2 separate regions of the Homo sapiens genome follow, and region 1 is linked to region 2. The links are contacts of gene promoters, found by promoter capture Hi-C in human tissues and cell types (Jung and others, 2019). All regions are on one chromosome and are shown on one strand. Each heading gives the region's core, a stretch centred on a gene start or on the middle of the fragment in contact. The rest is flanking DNA. Distances are from core to core; before and after follow the strand shown. Region 1 has its middle 3.9 kb from the start of MCUB. Region 2 holds the start of EGF (epidermal growth factor).

Region 1 (4,039 bases), core at 1,409-3,908, 360 kb before region 2:
TAGGGAAAGGAATATCCTTCTCTATTTACCATTAAAATTCTATCAAAGTGGGAGGCCCAATGGATAACAGGAGTATTCCTGGAAGCCATTCCTACGTGGGCATGGCTAGCAATATCTTAACAATACATAGAAATGACCATGAACCACACAAAAATATCCCACTAAACCCAAAGTAAATGTATCTCCAGCTCAGCTTGCTCTTTGCTTCCTAGAGAGACAGAAAGTAGATTAGTAGTTGCCTGGGGCTGGAGGTAAGAATGGAGAGTGAGGCAAATGAGCCTGAGGAATCTTTCTAGAGTGATGGAAATGTTCTAATTGATTGTGGTGACTGTTGCACAACTCTGTAAATTTGCCAAAAATAACTTTTAATAAATGAAAGTTACGATATGTAGATCATACCTTAATAGAGCTGTTTACAAAGTTTTTTTTTTTTTGAAAAGCGAGATCAGAGATTCGAATGTGAAAAGGCTGTGACATATAAGTAATACTTATGAACTAGCTCACATTGAGTAATCGTTTTGTCTCATCAAGAGTCCTATATACTGTGGGAAAGTTTGTTGTGCACCCGAAACATCTATGTGTGCCGAGCGACTTTGTGGACAGTGCCTCCCCGGTAAACCCGCTCTGTCTGCAGTGTCCGGAGCTTCTCCCACAGGAGTTTGCTAATCCCACCTTTGTGGCCAGATTCTGTGCTGCAAAACGGACATCTCCTCCCCCTCTTCTCCATTCCCCTCCTTCCTAATAAGACTCTTTTCTGGAGAACTGAGGTCAACATCAGATTTCAAATATTTAAAGTGGATACAAAACTATTTCAGCAATGCAGACAATTAGTTGCATTGTTGTGGTCAATGCAGTTGTTGGTAAAACATGTCTCCTGATATCCTACACAACAAATTTCCATCCTAATAGATACAGACTGTTTTTGACAACTATGCACTCACAGTTAGGACTGGTGCAGAGCCATATACTCTTAGACTTTTAATTCTGCAGGGCAAGAAGATTATGACAGACTATAACTCCTGAGTTATCTACACAGATATATTTCTAGTCTGTTTCTCAGTGGTCTCTCCATGTTCATTTTAAAGTATGAAAGAAAAGTGAGGGCCTGAGATAACTCACCACTGTCCAAAGGCTCCTTTCTTGCTTGTCACAACCCAAATTGATCTCAGAGGGTCTATTATTGAGAAAATTACCAAGAACAAATAGAAGCCTATCACTCCAGAGACTGCTGAAAAGCCGGCCCACAACCTGAAGGCTGTCAAGTATATGGACGGTCCTGTACCCACACAGCAAGATCTAAAGAATGGATTTGACAAAGCAATATTGGCTGTCCTGGAGCCTCCAGAACTGAAGAAGAGCTGGAAGCCTATGCTGCTATGAACATCTCTCCAGAGCCCTTTCTGCACAGCTGGTGTAGGCATCATACTAAAAGCAATGTTTAAATCAAACAAAAGATTAAAAATTAAAATTCATTTATGCAATAATGACAAATACCCTGCACCAACCCACATGCATCCATGTGAGACAGGGATTAGAGGTATGGCCCACTTCTCCCTCCCAATACTAGTTAATTCTGAGTAATTGTGTATTGTTAGAAAAGTGATCAGTACTCATTTTTGGTTTTTGTTTCAAAAAACAATTTTGTTTTTACTTAAAAGCAAGGCATGCTTGTGATGACTGTGTAACAGACTAATTGGAATTGTTGAAGCTGCTCCCTGGGTCCATTCTGGAGGGTAATCTGGGACATCTTAGTGGGGTTTTATTTTTTTCTTTTTTGGAGGAGGAGTGTTTGTAGGGTTTGTTTTTTAGTCTTTTTTCTTTTCTTTTCTTTTCTCTTTTTTAATTCATTAACCAGTGGTCAGTCCTTAAGAGGAGAAGGACGGATTGACTCCATATTCGACTTCCTAAATCTAGTTTAAAAAACATGTTCCCTATCTGGGGTGCTTTTAGGAAAGAATATAGTAAATGCCTTATTTAATAACATACCTCTTTTTGAAAGTTACCTTTTCTCTCCACCCTTGAGTAGGCTCAGTATTTGATGAAACTCATGAAAGTGGGTGAAAATTCTCTTGCCCCTGTTCTTTTCTGGGATGCACTAAATATGTGACTGTGACTTTCAAGGAAATTTGTTTGCCGGTTGCTGATTTTTGGGGAAGTTAATTTCTAACTTCTTTAACTGATGAATAAAGAAAAGTATTGCACCTTTGAAATGCAACAAGTGGATTGAGTTTGTAACTTAAAAAAACTTTTTTCCCTGTCAGTCATTGTCTTATATTATTATAGATTTGCAATCAATAGTATATGATGTTTCTAGAATGCAGCTGAAGACCTGGTATGTAGAGGCAATGTGAAGAGCGGTAGCAGAAGACCGACATCTATGGAATGATTCACAGCCTCTCAAGTTATAAGGATGGAGACCTGCTTCATGAAGAAGTTGGGGTGTGGTGGGGATGGATAGAACACTTAACAACATGAGATCAGTCAGGGGAATCTCCTCACTTCTGTGTAGCAGACGAGGAACCCAAGAGCCCCCAAATGAGGCTCTCTGGTTTGTTTTTTTTTTTGAGATGGAGTCTTGCTCTGTCGCCCAGGCTGGAGTGTAGTGGCACAACCTCGGCTCACTGCAACCTCTGCCTCCCCGGGGTCAAGCAATTCTCCTCCCTTAGCCTCCCGAGTAGCCAGGACTACAGGCACGTTCCACCACGCCCGGCTAATTTTTGTATTCTTAGTAGAGACAGGGTTTCACCAATGTTGGCCAGGCTGGTCTTGAACTCCTGATCTTGTGATCCGCCCGTCTTGGCCTCCCAAAGTGCTGGGATTACAGGCATGAGCCACCACGCCTGGCTGGCTCTCTGGTTTAATAAAAATTGTGTAAAGAATCTTATTGAAAGGTGACAATGTGCTGGCGGCCCTCGCTGGCTCTCAGCGCCTCCTTGGCCTCAGAGTCCGCTCTGGCCATGCTTGAGGAGCCCTTCAGCCCGCTGCTGCACTGTGGGAGCCCCTCTCCAGGCTTGCGGAAGCTGGTACCAGCTCCCTCTGCTTGCAGGGAGGTTGAGGGAGAGACGCGGGTGGGAACCGGGGCTGCATGTGGCCTTGCGGGACAGCGCGAGTTCCGGGTGGGCGTGGGCTCCGTGGCCCCGCACTCGGAGGGCGGCCGGCACCCCCGGCCCGGGCAGTGAAGGGCTTAGCACCTGGGCCAGCAGCTGCAGAGGGGGGCGTCAGGTCCCCCAGCACTGCCAGCCGGCCCGCGCCACGCTCAAATTCTCACCAGGCCTCAGCCACCTCCCCATGGGGCAGGGCTCGGATCTGCAGCCCGCCATGTGCAAGTCCCCCCGCGGTGGGCTTCTGCTAGGCCCTAGCCTCCCTGAGGGGCACCGCCCCTGCCTCAGCGGCGTCCAGTCCCATTGACTGCCCAAGGGCTGCTGAGTGCAGGCACGAGGCACGAGCGCAGGACTGGCAAGCAGCTCAGCCCGCAACCCTGGCATGGCATCCACTAGGGGAAGCCAACTGGGCTCCTGAGAGGGGTGGGGACTTGGAGAACTTTTATGTCTAGTTAGAGGATTGTAAATGCACCAATCAGCACTCTGTCTAGCTAAAGGTTTGTAAATGCACCAATCAGTGCTCTGTGTCTAGCTCAGGGTTCGTGGATGCACCAATCAGCACTCTGTATCTAGCTAATCTCCTGGGGACTTGGAGAACCTTTATGTCTAGCTAAAGGATTGTAAACACACCAATCAGCACCCTGTGTCTAGCTCAAGGTTTGTAAATGCACCAATCAGTGCTCCGTGTCTAGCTAATCTAGTGGGGACTTGGGGAACCTTTATATCCAGTTAAAGGATTGTAAATACACCAATCAGCACTCTGTATCTAGCTCAGGGATTGTAGACACATCAATCAGCACCCTGTCAAAACGGACCAATCAGCGCTCTGTAAAATGGACCAATCAGCAGGATGTGGGTGGGGCCAGATGGGGGAATAAAAGCAGGCTGCCAGAGCCAGCAGTGGCAACCTGTCTGGGTCCCGTGCCACGCTCTAGAAG
Region 2 (3,599 bases), core at 21-2,520:
TTGAGTCTGACTCAGTCCAGAAAGCAATGGAATATTCCGCATAACCACCTAAAGGACTTCTCTTTCCCCCTTCCCCAGGGTCTGTTTCTCCTGTAAGGGTTCAGAGCTGCCTGGCAGAGGCTGGCTGAAATAGGAGAAATCCTGACTTAAGCTGTTTCAGGAAAGTGATCCAGTCTTTGGAGAATAATCAGGACATAATTAAGTATGAGTAAAAGGCTTAGAGTTAGTCTGTTCTCCTCTGTAATGGGGTGTTCACTAGTGTGACAGTTGTTTTTGTGACTATTGCTTTTACGTACATTTTTGACCAGCACTTGGAACACTACCTCAGGGTAACTTAAATGAAAGTCCATTTTCCAGGATGGAGTAAACTGACAGAAATTTCCATCGTGCATCAAATCTGCTATAAGTTGTTTGCCTTCTGGGTATTTTTGGGCCCTAGTTGTACTCCTGAAGAAATAACCACTGTTGCTCCAAGTAGAAAGTGGTTGAGGAGACAGCTAACAGATACGTCCAGTTCTTATTTTCTATCACAGAGATGTGAAAAAAAAAAAGCCTAAATTATCTTAGAAGGAAAAGCATTCCTCTGTGCTGGATTTCCAGTGCTTCCCAGCTTTGCACTGTTAGCTTATTTTTTCCAATGTCCCTATAATAACAATCCACTCCTTTCTCTGCACTCCTGGCCCCTCGTGATGTTTTATCATGCTCATGCTGAAAGAAAAGGTGTCTGTCCATACTGTATCTCTTCATTTGGCCTCAGGGATTTCCCTTTGATTTGGAAAGAATAATCTTTCAAATTCCGCTATAAACTATACAGGAGAAAGAGAAAAATAAGATAAAGCTCCTGGAATGTGCACTGGTATTGACATTTCGTTCAAATAATGGGCTGAAGGTGAACTATCTTTACTATTGCTCATGTGAATGATCAATTATTATCAATCCAAACTATCAACAGTGCTGCTTATTATTGATTTATACTGCATGGTTTAATTTTGTCTCCATCCTTCCAGACATTAAAACATAGCCAATATTTAGCAGTTCCCGCCATTCACCATGAGCACCTCCACAGCCCCCAACTCCTCTCTCCCAGTTCTGCCCAGGATATTTATGGTGAGTAGCGAGTTATCTCCTCTTTGGCAGTCATCCCTGCTTTCCTGTGTGGAGGAATTGCCCACATTCGCATTTGCAAACAGAGGCTCACTCAAGTGTCACTAAAGGAAAGGAGGTGGAGCCTGAAGAGCTTTAAAAAGCAAAGCTGAGTCATTCCACTTTTCAAAAAGAGAAACTGTTGGGAGAGGAATCGTATCTCCATATTTCTTCTTTCAGCCCCAATCCAAGGGTTGTAGCTGGAACTTTCCATCAGTTCTTCCTTTCTTTTTCCTCTCTAAGCCTTTGCCTTGCTCTGTCACAGTGAAGTCAGCCAGAGCAGGGCTGTTAAACTCTGTGAAATTTGTCATAAGGGTGTCAGGTATTTCTTACTGGCTTCCAAAGAAACATAGATAAAGAAATCTTTCCTGTGGCTTCCCTTGGCAGGCTGCATTCAGAAGGTCTCTCAGTTGAAGAAAGAGCTTGGAGGACAACAGCACAACAGGAGAGTAAAAGATGCCCCAGGGCTGAGGCCTCCGCTCAGGCAGCCGCATCTGGGGTCAATCATACTCACCTTGCCCGGGCCATGCTCCAGCAAAATCAAGCTGTTTTCTTTTGAAAGTTCAAACTCATCAAGATTATGCTGCTCACTCTTATCATTCTGTTGCCAGTAGTTTCAAAATTTAGTTTTGTTAGTCTCTCAGCACCGCAGCACTGGAGCTGTCCTGAAGGTACTCTCGCAGGAAATGGGAATTCTACTTGTGTGGGTAAGTACTCCAATGAAAAGGTGCTCCAGGTCTCCGGGAAACTGCCCCCACATCCCTGTTGGTTCAATCTGGTATACTTGGGCATTTAACAAAGTTTGTCTTTGGGTATGTATAGTTGCTTAATTTTTGTTTTCTGATGCATGTTTATTTTCTTACTGGCCATTAGAGCTAATCTGCTACCAACTATAAAACTTCATAACTCTCAAACTGTACTTCTGTGTATAAGTGAATGAATATGCCTCATTTTAAACTAGCAGAACATTTCATGGAAGCTTCAGCTTTTACTCTGACAAGAGGAGTAATTAACACCTGGCTAATTGCTTGGAAATTAGGGAAACAGATGGTTGATTTTTTGTTTGTCTGTTTGAAACTCTTAAGCCACAAAGAAAAAAATCCTTCCTTCTGATAACTTGTAAGAATTCAGAAGTTCTAAAAATTAGTGAAAAATGGAAAGGGAACTGTGAACAAAGGTAGTTGTGAAAATTAACCTAAATTTCAATTTCAACCTCCTTCACTTTCTCCCCACTCTTACTGTTTCTGAGGCTCTGACACAACTCCGGAGTTTTAGTAACAGGTGCATTGCAACTTTAAGAACTGCCAAATATGATAATGGGTAAATAAGCCACACTGTCCTCTCATATTAAATGAATTTTTTGCCAAGGGGAAATGGGAGCTTGACTGAATGCGAATTACAATCCTGCCAAAGGATATTGCCTGAAAAACATTCTCTCTCTAACTGTTAATTCATTTATTTAATCCTTGGGTGAGCCTCCAACCTGCTGCTTAGACACGGCAGCCGCCTTTGTTGATGAGAGGTTATAGCTGCCCCGACATTCCATTTTTATCAGCTTGCCCTTTTGAGATGGCGTCTGGCTTTTAAAAAGAGGTAGATTGAGGGGGAAAACACAGTACAGTTTCCAGAAGAGACACCTATGGAAGACAGTACACAATAGGCAATAGTTTGAATAAAGAGAGCAGAATGGAGCCAAACTGCCAAAGCTAGGCTGCTGTCCTGGCTCTCCCATTAAGGAAGTTCCCGATGAGGAAATCAGGTGCTTTTGCTCAGAATCTCTGGACTCTGTTCTCAGGTAGCACTCCTTGTAACAGGTGAGCAGAACTCTAGGGTATTTGAAATAAAGACTTAATCCTAGTGATCTCTATGTTCCCAGCACCTAGGACATTCCTGCTTCCACAGTGTGTACTCAGCAAATTCTTGTGTATGAATGAGGCGTCTTTCTCTGATCTGCTAATGACATAGTCCTAGAGAACAGCAACAAAAAGAGGGTGACAAATGACAAAAATGGCCCCATGAACCTCAGACTCAGCTGTTGGAGACAGAAGTAAAACTTCTGTATACAGTTATGTCAAATGGACTGGACTCTCTTTGGGGTGGGAGAATTTTCCGTGGAGTAGTTGGCAAATATCTAGAGTTGGGCACTGTCATTTGCATGGGATGTGAGGGGTGATGGTTGGGCCGATCTATCAGGCAGCCAGAAGCTAGGAAAGAAGAACCCAGGTTGCTGAAGCAGAACCCAAGAAATTACAAAAATGAGCTTTTATGGATGGCTCTAGGATCTCAGAATAGTCTGATTCCTGCTGGCAAGCAAGTCTATGCCTTGTTTTCCTTGCCACCTCTGGTGGCTCAGAAGTGCCTTCATTGAGGTAGGTTGTACCCAATAAACATGAAACCCAGGATAGAAACAATAAGTTGGGGAGACTGTGTCACAGAGTGGAAGGAACCACAGGTTT

What was found. The method cuts DNA at HindIII sites, captures the fragments that hold promoters and counts their contacts. A contact is called where the count stands out against the background at its distance.
Region 1: a contact is called between a fragment that was not itself captured here and the fragment with the promoter of EGF in region 2, in 1 of the 25 tissues and cell types used here (dorsolateral prefrontal cortex).

The regions. Positions count from the first base shown.
Region 1 is chr4:109,554,353-109,558,391 of GRCh38, forward strand. It overlaps the pseudogene CDC42P4. Among named protein-coding and RNA genes, the nearest start is that of MCUB, 3.9 kb to the right of the region's middle. The HindIII fragment of the contact is 3,956 bases long and covers 681-4,039 here.
Region 2 is chr4:109,911,613-109,915,211 of GRCh38, forward strand. EGF (epidermal growth factor) reads left to right here and starts at 1,271. Exons shown (of 24, transcript NM_001963.6): 1 at 1,271-1,850. The coding sequence starts at 1,724. The HindIII fragment of the contact is 5,642 bases long and covers 1-3,386 here.